3 separate regions of the Homo sapiens genome follow, and regions 1 and 3 are each linked to region 2. Evidence: promoter capture Hi-C in 16 types of primary human blood cells and fetal thymus (Javierre and others, 2016). All regions are on one chromosome and are shown on one strand. The core of a region is centred on a gene start or on the middle of the fragment in contact, and the rest is flanking DNA. Distances in the headings are between cores, read along the strand shown.

Region 1 (2,894 bases), core at 395-2,894, 2.8 Mb before region 2:
TGTATTAATGGTGTGTCATATTTTTTACTGGTAAGGACTTATGTGTAAATAAATGTAAGAAAGTGATTGTCTTATTGGTAGCATAGAAATTCAGAGTCGGGAATGATGGCGATGCCAGACAACCACAGATTGCCCATATGTGTGGCTGAGATAGTGACACCTTTGCTTTCTGATGGTTCATTGTACACTTTGTTTCATGATCAAAATTAAAAATATTGTAAAATTACCTTCAGACTGTGTGTATAAGGTGCACATCAAACATAAATAAATTTCATGTTTAGACTTGGGTCCCATCCTCAGGTTATCTCACTATGTATATGCAAATATTCCAAAATCCAAAAACATCTGGAATTCTAAAACTTCTGGTCCCAAGCATTTTGGATATGGGATCCTGAAACTGTAGTTTATTTGGGAATAATAGGGGATTGCAATTTAGATACATGCGCTATGCTGGATCATAGGTACGTCCAAAGAAGTTGGGGCAAATGGAAACTTTTAAAGACCCAAAAGGGAAGTCCACCTAAGCGGTTTTGAAACAAAGACCATTGGTTTCAGAGGTTTATTGCAGGAGCTGGCATTAGTCCATTGGAGACAGGTGCACCAGGCAAGTGTCCTGTGCAAGTAACAGGCTCTAAGGAATTCCTGGCATAGTTCCTGTCATAGGCATACTTGCATGAGGGCCCTTCCTTCCTATCCTCTGGCTCCATTTTGTTAGAGTTTGACATGAGTGACTCCATTTTGATAAACGTGAAATATCTTTTCGATTGGTGCCTTCCTCCTCCCACGTTGTTGCTTATATAGAGAGAATGAGTTGCCCACTTCTCCACTTCTGGAATTTACCCAAGAGTTTTAAAAAAGAACCCTGGACATATGTTGAAGTTTCCTTCAATTTCCAGCTGTACCAAATGAGAAAAGATCATATTTTAAAATGTGTTACTGTCAACTCATGGTCAGCTAATTTCTGAAAAGAGTTTCCTGTTTTGGTTAATTTAGGAAAGGGAGTACAATGAATGATAAGGAGGTGGAGTTGCATGTGGTCTACAGGGCACAGCTGTAGGTGGCAAATGAGCTGAGATGGTCATTGTGTGAATTGGAGCCGTCTTACCGCAGTGCTCCCTTCTCAGTGGGCTTCTCATTTGCCTCCGGTGAAAGGATTCCTGTTTCTTTTCTCCCCATACCTTGCAATTTACATAACTTTTGCAAGATAGCTATTGTTAAGTAGAATTAAGCTCTTGCCTAGAGCAAGGGCAGTCAAGAATCAGATATATTAAAAAGTCTCCTTAATTGCATTTCCCTTTGTAGATAGTTTCAAGCATACAGCCTCTGAAAAACTCTGCACCAAGATGGGCTGATTTAATTACGTAAAAGAGATTTAGCCTAGAGTTAAGTTTTCCCTCTCTTCTCAGCTGTTTACCCTGTTAAAGTTTCACTGATTTGCAATTTCTCAAGGGCAGGCATCAACTTTAAGGGCTGGAACATTTAGGAGGGTAGAAAGAGCACGTGCTCTGGCTCCAGAGATCTGCCTCTCACCAGATTCCTGACCTAAGGGAAGTCACAGAACCCTTGGGACCCCAGTCCCTTCACCGGCAAAGGAGACACAGTCCTGCCACAGGTGGCTGCTGATGGCATTCAGGAAATGGGGTTTGTCTCTTCCCTTCCCAGAACCAGACTTCCCAGTGTACAGCTCAGTACATTGTCATCCACTCTCTTCTTGAAAGCATTTGTGGATGGAAAGGCAGAGACTCCCAGGCTCAGGCCACCCTCCCACATCAGCCTCCTGAATAGCTGGGACTACAGGGGTGCACCACCACACCTGGCTAATTTTTGTATTTTTTGTAGAGATGGGGTGTCACCAGGTTGACCAGGCTGGTATTGAACTCAGCCTAAGAGATCCACTGGCCTCGGCCTCCTGAAATGCTAGGATTATAGGCTTGAGTCACTGTGCCCAGCCGAGTAATTTTTTTTAAATAAGTCATTTTTAAAAATTAAATTAAATTAATTTATTGGCACGGAGTTTTGCTCTTTGCCCAGTCTGGAGCACAATGGTGTGATCTTGGCTCACTGCAACCTCTGCCTTCTGGGCTCAAGCGATTCTCCTGCCTCAGCCTCCCAAGTAGCTGGGATTATAAGCATGCGCCACCACGCCTCGCTAATTTTGTACTTTTAGTAGAGGTGGGGTTTCACCATGTTGGTCAGGCTGGTTTCCAACTCCTGACCTCAGGTGATCCGCCTGCCTCAGCCTCCCAAAGTGCCAGTATTACAGACGTGAGCCGCTGTGCCTGGCCGAGTAATTTTTTTTTAAAAGAGAAAAGAAAAAGCAGAGCAAAACAAAATAGACATTTTAAACATCTTACAGATTTAAAGTTGCCTCCTTTTTTTTCAAGGAACACAAAATATATAGATGATTGAGTTTACTTATAAAGATAATGCTTGGCATATTTATAGAAAAACACGGACTTAAAATTGGGTAACATAATCTTTTTTTAAATTAAAAAAACTGTAACGACATATTTGTTTCTTTACGGGGTATAATGTGATGTTATGATTTATGAGTATAATGTGGAATAATTAAATCAAGCTAATTAACATATCCATCAGCTCAAATAGTTATCATTTTGTGGTAAGTAAACATTTAAAATTTACTCTTAGCAAATTTGAAATGTACGTTATTACTGTATTCACCATGCTGTGCAATATGTCTCAAAGAAAAAAACGATTCCTCTTGTCTAATTGAGGCTTTGTAGCCTTTGATCATCATTTCTTCCTACACCTTCAGGCTCTGGTACCCACCATTCTACTCTCTGCTTCTTTGAGCTCCATTGTTTTAGAGTTCACATGTAAGAGAAAACATGCAGTGTTTGTCCTTCTGTGCTGGCATATTTTACTTAGGACAG
Region 2 (2,803 bases), core at 283-2,782:
CATATTTACTGGATGCGAAGTCCAAGAACGTGAGTTAAGGACACACAGTAGTGTGTGAAGAAAACAAAATCCACAGTACCCACACATGTATGAGGAGTTAAAAGTAATCTCTACATCAGGACTATGTAAAGATTTGCCACAGGAAAATCTTTAAATCTCAAAAAGATATTTAAATATCTTTAATATCAATTTAAATTTAATATCCTTAAATATCAGGAAAATATCAATCTTTATAATATCAAGAAATAACTCATCTTTTCCCACCACTAGACGAAACGTGCATTGGAGACTGACCTGGAAATTCAGCGTCCCAGATGGCTACAAAACAAGGACAACTAGAAGTAGTTATGAATTCTAGGAAATATATTCACAAGTGTGTAAAGATTCTATAGTATTGAACACTTAGTCAAAGGAGTCCTACTTGAATTCTCAAATCAATGACAAAGTTGCTTCCTCTCTACCCAAGATCAGGAGCTTCCCTAGTTTGCACATATCCACATTGACCAGTGGCTATAAAGTCACACTGCGATTATCTGGGTCATTTTAAAATAGGTCATTAGCAGTACTTGTAGTATCGCGTCTGTCTAAAAATCCTCCAACACCGAGTGACTTTTAAACTTTGGGGTGCCTTGGTAACCCCAGGGACGCTTATTAGACATGCAGACTCCGGGGCCCAAGCTCCAGACTAATTCCATGGGAATAGGGCGGGTCCCGAAACCGGCATTTTTAATCATCTGCCCGGGTGAATCCGAAGTGTGGTCCAAAAGCCACAGTCGAGGTGCCTCTGCCTAACAAGCTCCACAGAAAGCTCCGACTTCAGCCGCCCCGACGGCGATACGGACGCCGAGTTAGGCTGTCGGGGGTCTGTCTGGCGGCCGCGGGAAGGGACTCGGGGCCGGCGCGTCCACTAGCGACGTCCGGCCCGAGGTGAGAAGGGACTGACAATGGTACCGCAGTTATTTTCAATATTTCCATAAAGTCCCACGAAGCCGTGTGGCCGTGGGAAAAGGGCTTTAACTTTGAAATCCCACGGGTCAGGTTACCACCAGCTCTGCCGCCTCCTAACAGCGCGTCCCCGCAGTTCCCTTAACGTTCGGGCCTCAGTTTCCCGATCCGTGCAACGGGCTCACGCCATCTCCGGAAGGCTAAGCCGAAACGAAACTAACTCCGCCGCTCGCAGACACTTCCTGGCTCTGCTCAGCGCGGCCCAGCCTCCCCAGCCGCCCGGGAGGAGTACCCGGCCCAAGCGCGTCGCGCAGGCAGTCGCCTCCCAACGCCCCCGGCCCTCGGCCGGCCACTCACGGGTAGGCATGGCGATCTCGACCGCGCTCGCCGCCGCACCGAGGCTCAGCGGGGCCGCGCAGGGAGCGCCGACGGCACCATGACGGCCGTTGCTGGGCCGCGGAGGCCGGAACGAGGCGAAGGGCGAAGGGCGAAGGGTGGAGGGAGCGGACGCGGACCCCGCGGTCACGCAACCAAGCGGGCGACAGCTACCGCCGCCAGCCCACTCCTCGCCGGGCGGCGCGACGGACGACCCACGCCCGTTACGTCAGCGCGCCGCCGCCGTCCCGGCCCCGCCCCCGCGGATGGCCGGGCTCGGCCCAGGATCCCTTGTCGAGCGGGTGGAATGGGTGGCTGGGGACAGCCACGTAGAACAACTTCGGGTGCCTTCTATTTTCCAAGCCTGGTGACCTGCGTGGCATTCGTTTTCCTTGATCTCTATTTGGAGTGCATCACTTTACGTTTGTGAGGATGATGGCTTTGAGCGCACGGAGTACCTGTGGGCTTTTTCTTTTGCAATCGGTTTAACTTGCAGTGCGTTTTGCATACTCTGAAAGCATGGTTTATTTGAGATGCACTAAGGTCATTTGGGGTGATGGCTGCTCATTTTTTGAGAGGGCAGAAAATGTAATTTCCTTTTGCTCTTGTGACTTTCAGAGCGACCTTATCCCTCAGGAGTTAGTCTCCTCTGGAGAGGGCAGCTCTGTGCACTTGGCTGAGCTACTCTTCTTGACTCTGGGTGTCATTAATAATTGAGGTATCTAATAGTCACCAAGCTGAGCAGACACCGGGAGCCAGAGAGCTGAGCAACGCACCTACACTATGCTAGGCGCCGTGGGCTGCGGACAGCCCATATGGAGATATAAAAGCCAACCGCAGAGGTTTAACACAGCCTTCCTCAAAGTGGGTCAAAGTGGTCCAGGATCCTTTTGTGCTTGGATCCCCTGGGGACTTGTTGAAAAGCAGATTCCTAGGTGCTGAGCCAAATCTACGAACACATATACAGATGATTTAAATACAATGATAATACTGAGAACCTTTGTCCTAAAAAGTAGGGCTAACCTTCTGATTAAGAAATGATATTGTGCAGTACTGGGAGGAGAAGATGAAGAACATGAAGATCAGAGCTAGGAAGCGCTGAGGAGAAATTAGTCTTGGCTTGAGGTGGACTTGGAAGAAAGCAGAATTTGAATTAGCAAAGCCTAGGGGAGTCCTAAAAGAGGCTGGGGAGAGGATGAAGGGTAATTTAGAGTGAGTCATGGCAGCTGGGGAGAGGAGAGTGTGTACTGTACCTATAAAAGAGACTGTCCAGCTGGGAACGGTGGCTCACGCCTGTAATCCTAACACTTTGGGAGACCGAGGTGGGCGGTGGGCAGATCACCTGAGGTCAGGAGTTCGAGATCAGCCTGGCCAACATGGCGAAACCCTGTCTGTACTGAAAATGCAAAAATTAGGCGGGGGTGGTGGCACATGCCTATATTCTCACTCAGCTACTTGGGAAGCTGAGGAAGGAGAATCGCTT
Region 3 (2,700 bases), core at 162-2,661, 2.9 Mb before region 2:
AACACTTAGCATGTCCCCCTCCTGTAGGTCTTGTTGACCTTGGTGGCATCGTGGAGGTCATATGTTCATGGAGATAAACAGTTCTTGAACGGTTTACTCCAGGTGGTAAAAACACATGGGAAAGTGATTTGGGCTGTGCGTATCTTGGTTTTTTAAAAAATCATTTTTATCGAGCGTTTATTGTGATCATGGCCAAAAATAAAATAATTCTTTGACTTTTTTTGAAATACTATACACACATTTCTATATTACATTTTTAAGAATTGCTTATTTTTCAATTTTTCTAGTATTTCTTGTATATTCTACCACAGGTGAACAACTCATTTTTTGGGTGACATTTTTAGAGCTTGCTTGAGGGGCACTAGAAAGAAGGGCAGTAATGTGATGTGAATGTTTCAGCTTATGAAAACAGCTGTGCTCTACTTTAAGAAATTTGACATTTAAAAGTGTAAGATTGCAAAACAAATTAATTACTAGTTGGTTATATTATGTGAGAATTTTAAAAAAGGGATTCACTAAAAGTTGTTTTCAAATACTTAATCCCTTTAAATGGTATTTATCTAATGTGATTTGATTTGTGAATAATCAGTTGGCATACAACAATTTAGGAACAGATTTTTGGCATATGTAAGGGTTATCAGTGTGTTCTTTGAGTTCTCTCTTTACCAAAAGTATTTGGGGACAAAGTTAAATTCAGTGTTGTTCCACTTATATGCCACCTATAATGGTTTAACTGAGTGGGAAAATTGTCATCTGATTTATCCCATATCATTTAAGGCAGCGGTGTCCAATCTTTTGGCCTCCCCGGGCCACGTTGGAAGAAGAAGAATTGTCTTGGGCCACACATCAAATGCATTAACAATAACTAATGAGCTTAAAAAATTGCAACAAAAATTTCATATTTTTAGAAAGTTTACACATTTGTGTTGGGCCTCATTCAAAGCTGTCCTGGGCCATGGGTTGGACAAGCCTGATTTAAGGAGTACATTGAAGCCTAATTAAAATGCTTTTCACCATTGAGTAAAACTTTATGATCAGGTTTGTCAGGAACCTCATCCAAGGTAGTTTAGTTAGTGGAGTATCAAAAGCACCTTGTTGTCAGACACTCTCACTAGGACAGTGGTCCCCCAGCAGAGGCCAACAAGCAGTTATACCCAAACTTCAGCAAAATCAAAATAAGTAGATTTGGTCTAAAGTCCACAAGCAGTAAAAACCGTTACCTTGAAATTTTCTGTAGGTGCAAATTATTCTTCAGAATTAAAGGCTTGATTTTCCTAAGCTGTAATTCTGTTTGAGTCACTTGTGAAAAATGCTATTTTGGTAAAAGAACAACTATGTATTCTTTCAAAGGAGTTTTTTCCCTTTGTGTTAATGCATTTGCGTTTATTTGGAATTGCAGGAGATGATGAATGAAGTACTTGGGAAGTTTAATTCAGAAATCATTTTGCTTTGCTTATGTAGAAAAAAAAGGAATGTGAGTTAATAGGAGAACTTATTTGTGGGTTAGTTCGTACTTCATGTGGGGATAAGGAGGAAAGGGAGGAAGTAGCTGCAAACTTTATTAAGGATAACTAATCAAGTTTCATTTGATTTATACTGTTCATGCCTGGCTTGGGTAACAGTGACGCCTTCACCTTTTCCTAGTTTTCGAGAAATTTTATTCTTAGAGAAGGGGTTTGAAGGATAAGAGCTAAGCATCAGGGCATACAAGAAGTAAAAAATATCTTCAGAATGCTTAATAGTATTTTGTTTTGTTTTTATACATTAGAAAGCAAGAAATTATTTTAATACTGAATATGGGTCAAAAGCCCAACTTCGGGATACTGGGCACGGTTTCATACCTCTTAGCATAATTGAATATTATAAAAATGGAAGGAACAGCTTGAATGGTGCCATTGATTTTTTTAGTACAGGCTCTTAGTTCCTCAATTGAACAAATGAGTAAAAATGAAGATTAAAGAAGAGATGATATTAAAAGAAGTGTTTTCCATTTTTTAAAAAATCCCAAGGGACTGTCTCAAATGACTGTTAATTTCAGAACATAGATTAAAAAGTACATTACATTGGATTTATGATTAATGAGGACACAATTACAATTTTTAAAAAATACATGTAAAAAAGGTGAGTATACTACTGCAGTTTACAAATATTTGTGCCAAGATACGTGAGGCTAGTGGTAATGATTAGAAATTATAATTGGAAGTGAAGACTGATTTATGTTCTCAATTTCATTATTTAAGCCAATGTCACTTTTAAAATGTCACTTAATTTTTCTATTCCCAATGTTCTTTTCAATAAAATGCAGTCATTAGTGCACCATACTTTATGTAAACTGGGGTTTCAAAATAATATTAACTAGAATTTTTTTTTTTTTTTTTTTAGACAGAGTCTCACTCTGTCACCCAGGCTGGAGTGCAGTGGCGCGATTTTGGCTCAATGCAACCTCCGCCTCCCGGGTTCAAGCAATTCTCCTGCCTCAGCCTCCCAAGTAGCTGAGATTACAGGCACCCACCACCACGCCTGTCTAATTTTTGTATTTTCAGTAGAGACGGGATTTCACCATGTTGGCCAGGCTGGTCTCAAACTCCTGACCTCAGGTGATCCGCCCTCCTGGGCCCCCCAAAGTGCTGGGATTACAGGTGTTAGCCCGTGCCCAGCCAATTTACTAGATTTCTTAAGCATAAAATATTATCTAATAAT

What was found. Contacts are between HindIII fragments. The CHiCAGO score rates a contact against its expected background, and 5 or more counts as called.
Region 1: a contact is called between a fragment that was not itself captured here and the fragment with the promoter of EFR3A in region 2, in 1 of 17 cell types (total CD8 T cells). The highest score is 5.6, in total CD8 T cells.
Region 3: a contact is called between a fragment that was not itself captured here and the fragment with the promoter of EFR3A in region 2, in 2 of 17 cell types (fetal thymus and activated CD4 T cells). The highest score is 8.2, in fetal thymus.

The regions. Positions count from the first base shown.
Region 1 is chr8:134,708,062-134,710,955 of GRCh38, reverse strand. The region is part of intron 1 of ZFAT (zinc finger and AT-hook domain containing); the gene reads left to right. Among named protein-coding and RNA genes, the nearest start is that of ZFAT, 3.5 kb to the left of the region's middle. RefSeq lists an enhancer at 845-1,528. The HindIII fragment of the contact is 6,003 bases long and covers 1-2,894 here.
Region 2 is chr8:131,902,822-131,905,624 of GRCh38, reverse strand. EFR3A (EFR3 homolog A) reads right to left here and starts at 1,532. Exons shown (of 23, transcript NM_015137.6): 1 at 1,303-1,532. The coding sequence starts at 1,312. RefSeq lists an enhancer at 536-585 and a silencer at 1,156-1,635. The HindIII fragment of the contact is 8,534 bases long and covers 1-2,803 here.
Region 3 is chr8:134,827,447-134,830,146 of GRCh38, reverse strand. It overlaps a transcript of ZFAT not described here. Among named protein-coding and RNA genes, the nearest start is that of NCRNA00250, 9.3 kb to the left of the region's middle. The HindIII fragment of the contact is 4,725 bases long and covers 1-2,700 here.